2 separate regions of the Homo sapiens genome follow, and region 1 is linked to region 2. Evidence: promoter capture Hi-C in human tissues and cell types (Jung and others, 2019). All regions are on one chromosome and are shown on one strand. The core of a region is centred on a gene start or on the middle of the fragment in contact, and the rest is flanking DNA. Distances in the headings are between cores, read along the strand shown.

Region 1 (3,354 bases), core at 10-2,509, 1.1 Mb after region 2:
CCGCGCCCAGCCTTCATAGGCATTTTTAAACTCATTGCTCATAACCCTGTGAAATACTTACTTCCAGTAAGGCAACTGAGGCAAGAGAGGTTAAACAACTGGCTGAACATCACATAGGTACTGTGCCAGTCAGCATTCAGAGAAGCAGAACCACTAGGAGGTGTCTGTGTATGTGTGTACCTTTATATGTATCTTTATCTGGGATAACCCAGCCTGCTTGATTCCAAAGTTCATTCCCTTTCCACTGTACCCCACTGCTCTGCAGAGGAAAAATAGAATATGAGTCAACCTCTGCAATCTCGCTGAGATTCTAAGATAGTTTAGAACGTCATAAAATTGTAAGCATGTGGTTATCAGAAGTTGTCAAGTAGAGAAAAGAAGGGCAGATAGCTTCACGGTGGGTAGTGGCAATGCCTTTTTCACTTCCTTCCTAGTAGAAGAATCTCATTAAACTTGTCTCTTAGCAGCAGCATTCGAAACTATATACCACAAGCACCCAAAGGGATGATTTTCCACGTCTTGGCTTATTAATGTCCTTAAGTTCTCTGGTTACTCAACCTTCAGGTTTATTAGTTTCTCTCTCAGACAGTGGGCATAGCCCTCGAGTAAGGAGTGGGTGGAAGAGGTCCTGGGGCTGGTGAGATGAAAAATGCATTGTCCTTGGGCTGCAGGCTTCCCTCCAGCATTCTGACTCCTTTTTAGAAACTAAAGATAAGCTTTATTAAATTCTGGGGTCTCTCTTAGCCAGGTAGCTGCGAAGCTGTACATCCACATAATATATAGTGTTTGGAAAGTTTTGAAAAAGCACACCTTGGAGCTTGGGAGTCCATATCTACATTTAATTTTAAAAGGAAATGAAAAATGTGAGAAGTCTCTGTCAATTCCCTGCCCCTACCCCCTCTAAAAATGGAAATGAAATGAATCTATTTGGAAATTTGAAGAGTTGAATTTGAATGTGAGAGACCAAAGCCCCAAGTGAACAAACAACAGATTTTATTGTTTCTTTAAAAATGATTCTTTGGCCCTAATGTTGAAGTTTAATGACTTATTGAAACAATAGAGAAATGATTTAAAGCTGACAAAAAGAATAAATTAAATTGTCATTGGTATAAACTATTAGGTTGAGTGGTTCCTAATAATTTCGGACACTTAAGTGGTTGTAAAGATTTGGTGTGCTGCTGAAAGCGGGTATATTAATAATTCTGGTGTGATTTATAAAAACTAAAATCAGAATTTGGTGTTAGTACACTGTAGACACTTTACTCTTTTAGGAAAAAGGAATTCAATTTTTATTATTACCTGGTTTGTGTGCAGGCGGTAGTCTAAATACCTAGATCATTTCATTCTTACAATTAATTTCCTGTCAGTTATATACATAATTTTATTCCTGTGTTTGTAGATGAGGAAATTGAGCCTCAGAGAAGTTGAAAAAGTCACTCATGTGTAAGCTGGATTTTGTCATGGAGTCCATTGAGTCAGATCTGTTTGATTTTGAAGTCCATGCTTATTATTACTAAACTATTTTTTTGAGTAAGAAAATTCTTTTTATTCTAACATATTTGTAAAGAATCAGTAAGTAACAAGGTCATGGGATGCTATGGTGGAAAGAGCACCAAGCCTTAAGTCAGGGCCTTGGACTTGAAGTCAAAAATCAGAAGGAAGCCGGGTGCAGTGGCTCACGCCTGTAATCGCAGCACTTTGGGAGGCCAAGGCGGGCAGATCACGAGGTCAGGAGTTCAAGACCAGCCTGGCCAATATGGTGAAACCCCGTCTCTACTAGAAATACAAAAATTAGTTGGATGTGGTGGCACATGCCTGTAGTCCCAGCTACTGGGGAGGCTGAGGCAGGAGAATCACTCGAACCTGGGAAGCGGAGGTTGCAGTGAGCTGAGATCGTGCCACTGCACTCCAGCCTGGGTGACAGAGCAAGACTCCGTCTCAAAAAAAAAAAAAAAAAAAAAAAAAAAACAGAAGGAGACCCTGATGCCTGCAGCATATGGTTCTGTCCACCTCCATTTCCTCACCTGTAAAATGGGCATTGTGCCAACACCTGTCTCTCTGTCCTACTGGCTGCTCTGTCTTACTGAGCTCTTGTCTCTGAAAGTTCTGGGTAAATGGCAAAGTGGCATATATCTTTTATCCTGTGTATCTTTAAAAAATATAGTATTTTTTCTCCAGAGTGCGCATTAGGCTTGATTTATATTACGTCATTTAAACTGTCAAATAAATGTGGACCACATATATTAAACAGTTTTTATTCTGGAGGTGGTGATAGCTTTGCAATGATAGGGATTTTTAAAAAGCCCAGAGTGACACCTCAGATTAGAGTTTGCTACTGTTGCATAGGAGTTAAGTAGCCAAGCCATCTTTTCTCATTTCCCTTTAGCTAAAATACAGTGCACTAGGTATTTTTGGAAAATTTCCCCAAAGATCTAAAGTTTGTGGGAGGAAGGAGCGAGAATCACCCTTGATTCCATTACTCCAAGGCACTAGCCATTGTTAGCATATTTCATTCTGGTCTTCTCTAATTGCATTTTTTTTTTTTTTTTTTTTTTGAGATGGAGTGTTGCTCTGTCACCCAGGCTGGAGTGCAGCGGCGCGATCTCAGCTCACTGCAAGCTCCGCCTCCAGGGTTCATGCCATTCTCCCGCCTCAGCCTCCCAAGTAGCTGGGACTACAGGCGCCCACCACCATGCTTGGCTAATTTTGTTTTTATATTTTTAGTAGAGACAGTGTTTCACCGTGTTAGCCAGGATGGTCTCGATCTTCTGACCTCATGATCCGCCCGCCTCGGCCTCCCAAAGTGCTGGGATTACAGGCATGAGCCTGTAATTGCGTTCTTAACTCGCATAGGTTCTTTAATTGCATTTTTAACTCGGATAGGTTCATAATGCAATATAACTTTGTATCATGACTTTTTCAGTTTATGTTACACAGAAATGTTTCTCTATTTCCCTATACACCCAAAAAAGGGCTGCCTACTGTTCCACTATATGGATTCACTGTATTTTACTTCTATGTATCTATTTGGGAGATTTCAGTTGCTCATTATTTTTAAGTGAGTTTTAAAACTCATTTCAATGAATGCCTCTGTGCATGAAACTTTGCCTAAATATCAGAGGACTTCCACAGAAAATGGGTTCCTGAAAAGGCACTTTGAGGGTCAAAGATGTTCACATTTTTGAGGCAATTGATGACATCAGTGTTGATCTGAAGGTCATCCCAGGTTACATTCTCACAGCAATAGCCAAAAAGACTCAATTTCATATTCTTGTTATTTTCTCTGAAAAACATATTCGCTAATTTGTTAGGCAAAAATTGGTACCTTGATTGTTTTAATTTGTACATGGTTGG
Region 2 (3,575 bases), core at 853-3,352:
ATATGTGGAAATACATGGACTACATTTTAAATTTAAAAACCCCAATATGATAGTTAAAAAATGTATTTTAAGAACCCACCCACTCCCCAATTTTATAAGACATAAATCTATTATAATCATTCATGTTTAAATTGATCATTCCTCCTGTAGACAAATCCATCTGGAAATTTTCTTCTTTACTCGTGATCTCCAGCAGTCACCTAAATCTTAAGTCAAGTATGAAAAAAACCTCAAAAATGTTGCTTTAAAAATTGATCCGTACTTTGCGATCTACATTTTAAAAAATACCATGCTTATTTTACCACTTCACTTCAAGAAAAGGCCTCTAGGTCAGAGGTCTCCAATCTTTTTGGCACCAGGACCAATTTCATGGAAGACAGTTTTTCCACAGACCGGGTTTGGAGATGGAGGAGAGATGGTTTCGGGATGATTCAAGCACATTACATTTATTGTGCACTTTATTTCTATTATTATGACATTGTAATATATAATGAAATAATTATACAACTCACCATAATGTAGAATCAGTGGAAGCCCTGAGCCTGTTTTCCTGCAACTAGATGGTCCCATCTGACATGATGGGAAGCAGTGACAGATCATCAGACATTAGATTCTCATAAGGAGCACGCAACCTAGATCCCTCCCATATGCAGCTCACAGTAGGGTCCAAGCTCCTATGAGAATCTAATGCTGCCACTGATATGACAGGGTGTGGAGCTCAGGTGGTAATGCAAGCGATGGGGAGCGACTGTAAATACAGATGAAGCTTCATTTGCTTACCCACCACTCACCTCCTGCTGTGTGGCTCGGTTCCTAACAGGCCATGAACTGGTACCTGTCTGTGGCCCAGGGGTTGGGGACCACTGCTCTAGATAACTCCTTTCCACCCTCTTCCTGCCTGATTGCTGAAATTATGGAGTCACCATTCCTACTCCTGCCCATCATCACATGACTGCCCCACCCAACTGATGAAAGGGATAACCGACCTGCACCTTGAAGAAAAGCATCATCAAAGAGCTCTAAGATGCTGTGGAAAACCAGTATGGTAGTTCTGCAAAAAATTAAACAGAATGGTCATACGATCCGTGAATTCCACTTCTAGGTATAGACTCAAAAGAATGTTAAGTACCAACTTAAATAGATATTTGTGCACCACGTTCACAGCAGCATTATTCACAAGAGCCAAAAGGTGAAAACTACCCAAATGTCCATTGATGGATGAATGAATGAACAAAATGTGGGACGTACATACAACAAAATAGTATTCAGCCTTAAAAAAGGAAGGAAAGATTCTATTATTCTATGTAATAATAATAGAAATGATATGGATGAACCTTAAAGACATTATGCTCAATGAAATAAGCCAGTCACAAAAAACCAAATATGGTATAACTCCACGGACATGAGGTACCTAGAGTAGTCAAATTCACACAGACAGAAAGTAGAATTATAGTTTCCAGGGTCTGAGGGAAGGGGAAAATGGGAAATTATTTTTTAATGGCATAGAATTTCAGTTTGGGATGACGAAAAATCTTTGGAGATGGGCAGTGGTGGTGGTTGCACAACAGTGTGAATGTACTTAATTAATGCCACTAAATTGTACATTTAAAAATGCTTAAGGTCAGGCGCGGTGGCTCACACCGTAATCCTAGCACTTTGGGAGGCCGAGACAGGCAGATCACTTGAGCTCAGGAGTTCAAGACCAGCCTGGGCAACTGGCGAAACCCCGTCTCTACAAAAAATACAAAAAACTTAGCCAGGCCAGTTGGTGAGCGCCTGTAGTCCCAGACATTTGCGGGACTGAGAAGCCCAGCCTCTTGCGGGCTTTAGCGCAAGAGGTCAAGGCTGCAGTGAGCAGTGATCACACCACTGCACTCCAGCCTGGGTGACAAAGTGAGACCCTACCTCAAAAAAAATAAAAATAAAAATAAAAATAGAAAGATGGTGAGCATGATAACTCCTATGTTATGTGTATTTGACCACAATTTAAAAAAGTGCTAAGATTATAATGAATATATATAACATGCAATACCAGTAGCATGCAGAAGAGGGCGGATGGGGTTTAAGCTTTACAGAAAACCTCGATTCAATTCCCTCCTGCAGCCAATTCTGACCGTGTCAACGAATCATCCACGCACCTGCAGCTCTGCTGAGAGAGTGCAAGCCGTGGGGTAAGAACCTTAGCTTTGTTTGTTGTAACTCTCATTAAAAAGATATAAGGGCTGCATGGGTATTTTCTAAAAAGGAGATAATTTGAGCTAATATTGAGGGGAGGGAAGTAGGGTTATTTAGATTTTTAGTATTTACTATTTTGTCTAGATTAATGATTAGTGACCTTGGGGCTATTGATCTGAGGAATTTCTTGCAGATGCTTGAGAGCGTGGGTTTCTTTTCACTGATTGCGGATCAAACCTGGTCAGCTCTTCTATTCAGATTGAACGGTCCTATGCACTGTGGCAAGTTTTTTCTAGCTCTTATTTCCCCACAGCGTATGTTAACCTCTGCTGGATGAAACCTTTGGCTATTTAAGGCATATTTGTTGCTCCTTTACCCCGTTGAAAAGTTCTGCATTTGTGTTACCTGTTTAAAAGTAGGGGCAGATCTGATGGATCTTGTACAATGCAGTTCTTATTCCGTTTCCTTCAGAAGTGGACAAAGAGGGCCATATGTGGTTGCTGTAAAGAAGAGGATGGTTAACAACCTGTGAGCATTTGGTTTCTTGATAAGCTTTCTCCCAGACCACCTACACTGAGCTATTAATTAGGAATAGGATGCACTTCGAGTTTTATTTCAATTCTTGTGAACTTATAACTTTCCTAAGAATATATTTATACATGTAGGCAAAGTCTCTTGAACTTTGTGGCACCTAGCAGAGTGTCCCACAGCAGCTGCATGAAGCTTCATAGACAGGGGCATGGGGTGAGAAAGGAGGAAGTGGCCGCCATGGCAGCTGGTCAGATCAATGGATTCAACCTCAGTGATTCGGTCCTTAGGATGTCGTTACATCTTAAGCCACCTCATTTCAAGGTTTGAGGTGCCTTGCATTTGGGTTTAGTTACCATCCAGAAGGAACCAGACAGGTCTGGGTTCAAATCTCTGCTTCTTCAGTTGGTCATCTTGGGCAAGTTACTTTACCTCTGGGCTTTAGCTCCTCCATCTGTAAAATATGAATAATAATGGCCGCCATTTTGTTGAGTCATTGAGGGATTAAACAAGGTAATGGACATAAAACACTTAGCTCCATGTCAGACACGTAGGAAATACTGAAAAGAAGTCATTCTTACTCTTATGTTGCAAAGATCATTCAACATTCAATAGGTTCTTAATCTCTTTTCTATTTCTTTATATCATTGGGAAAAGATAAATTAGATGATTAAATATTCTTTGGTAAAACACTAGTTGTCATTTGATGATGTCTTTTGACTTGGACTTTTAAATTATAAGATATTAAAGATGTATTAAGGAAGGTCATTCTCTGTTTTTTACCTGCTTTTAACGTAGTAGTAGGGATATGATATTAACATATATATACTATTTATAGACTACATCACCAACATGGTGAAACCCCATCTCTA

Evidence for each region. Contacts are between HindIII fragments. The study calls those that stand out against the background at their distance.
Region 1: a contact is called between a fragment that was not itself captured here and the fragment with the promoter of TLR10 in region 2, in 1 of the 25 tissues and cell types used here (dorsolateral prefrontal cortex).

What each region holds. Positions count from the first base shown.
Region 1 is chr4:37,680,133-37,683,486 of GRCh38, reverse strand. All of the region lies in intron 1 of RELL1 (RELT like 1), which reads left to right. Among named protein-coding and RNA genes, the nearest start is that of RELL1, 4.6 kb to the left of the region's middle. RefSeq lists an enhancer at 664-713. The HindIII fragment of the contact is 3,589 bases long and covers 1-3,053 here.
Region 2 is chr4:38,781,517-38,785,091 of GRCh38, reverse strand. TLR10 (toll like receptor 10) reads left to right here and starts at 2,102. Exons shown (of 4, transcript NM_030956.4): 1 at 2,102-2,171. RefSeq lists enhancers at 2,781-2,950, 3,013-3,222. The HindIII fragment of the contact is 2,112 bases long and covers 1,418-3,529 here.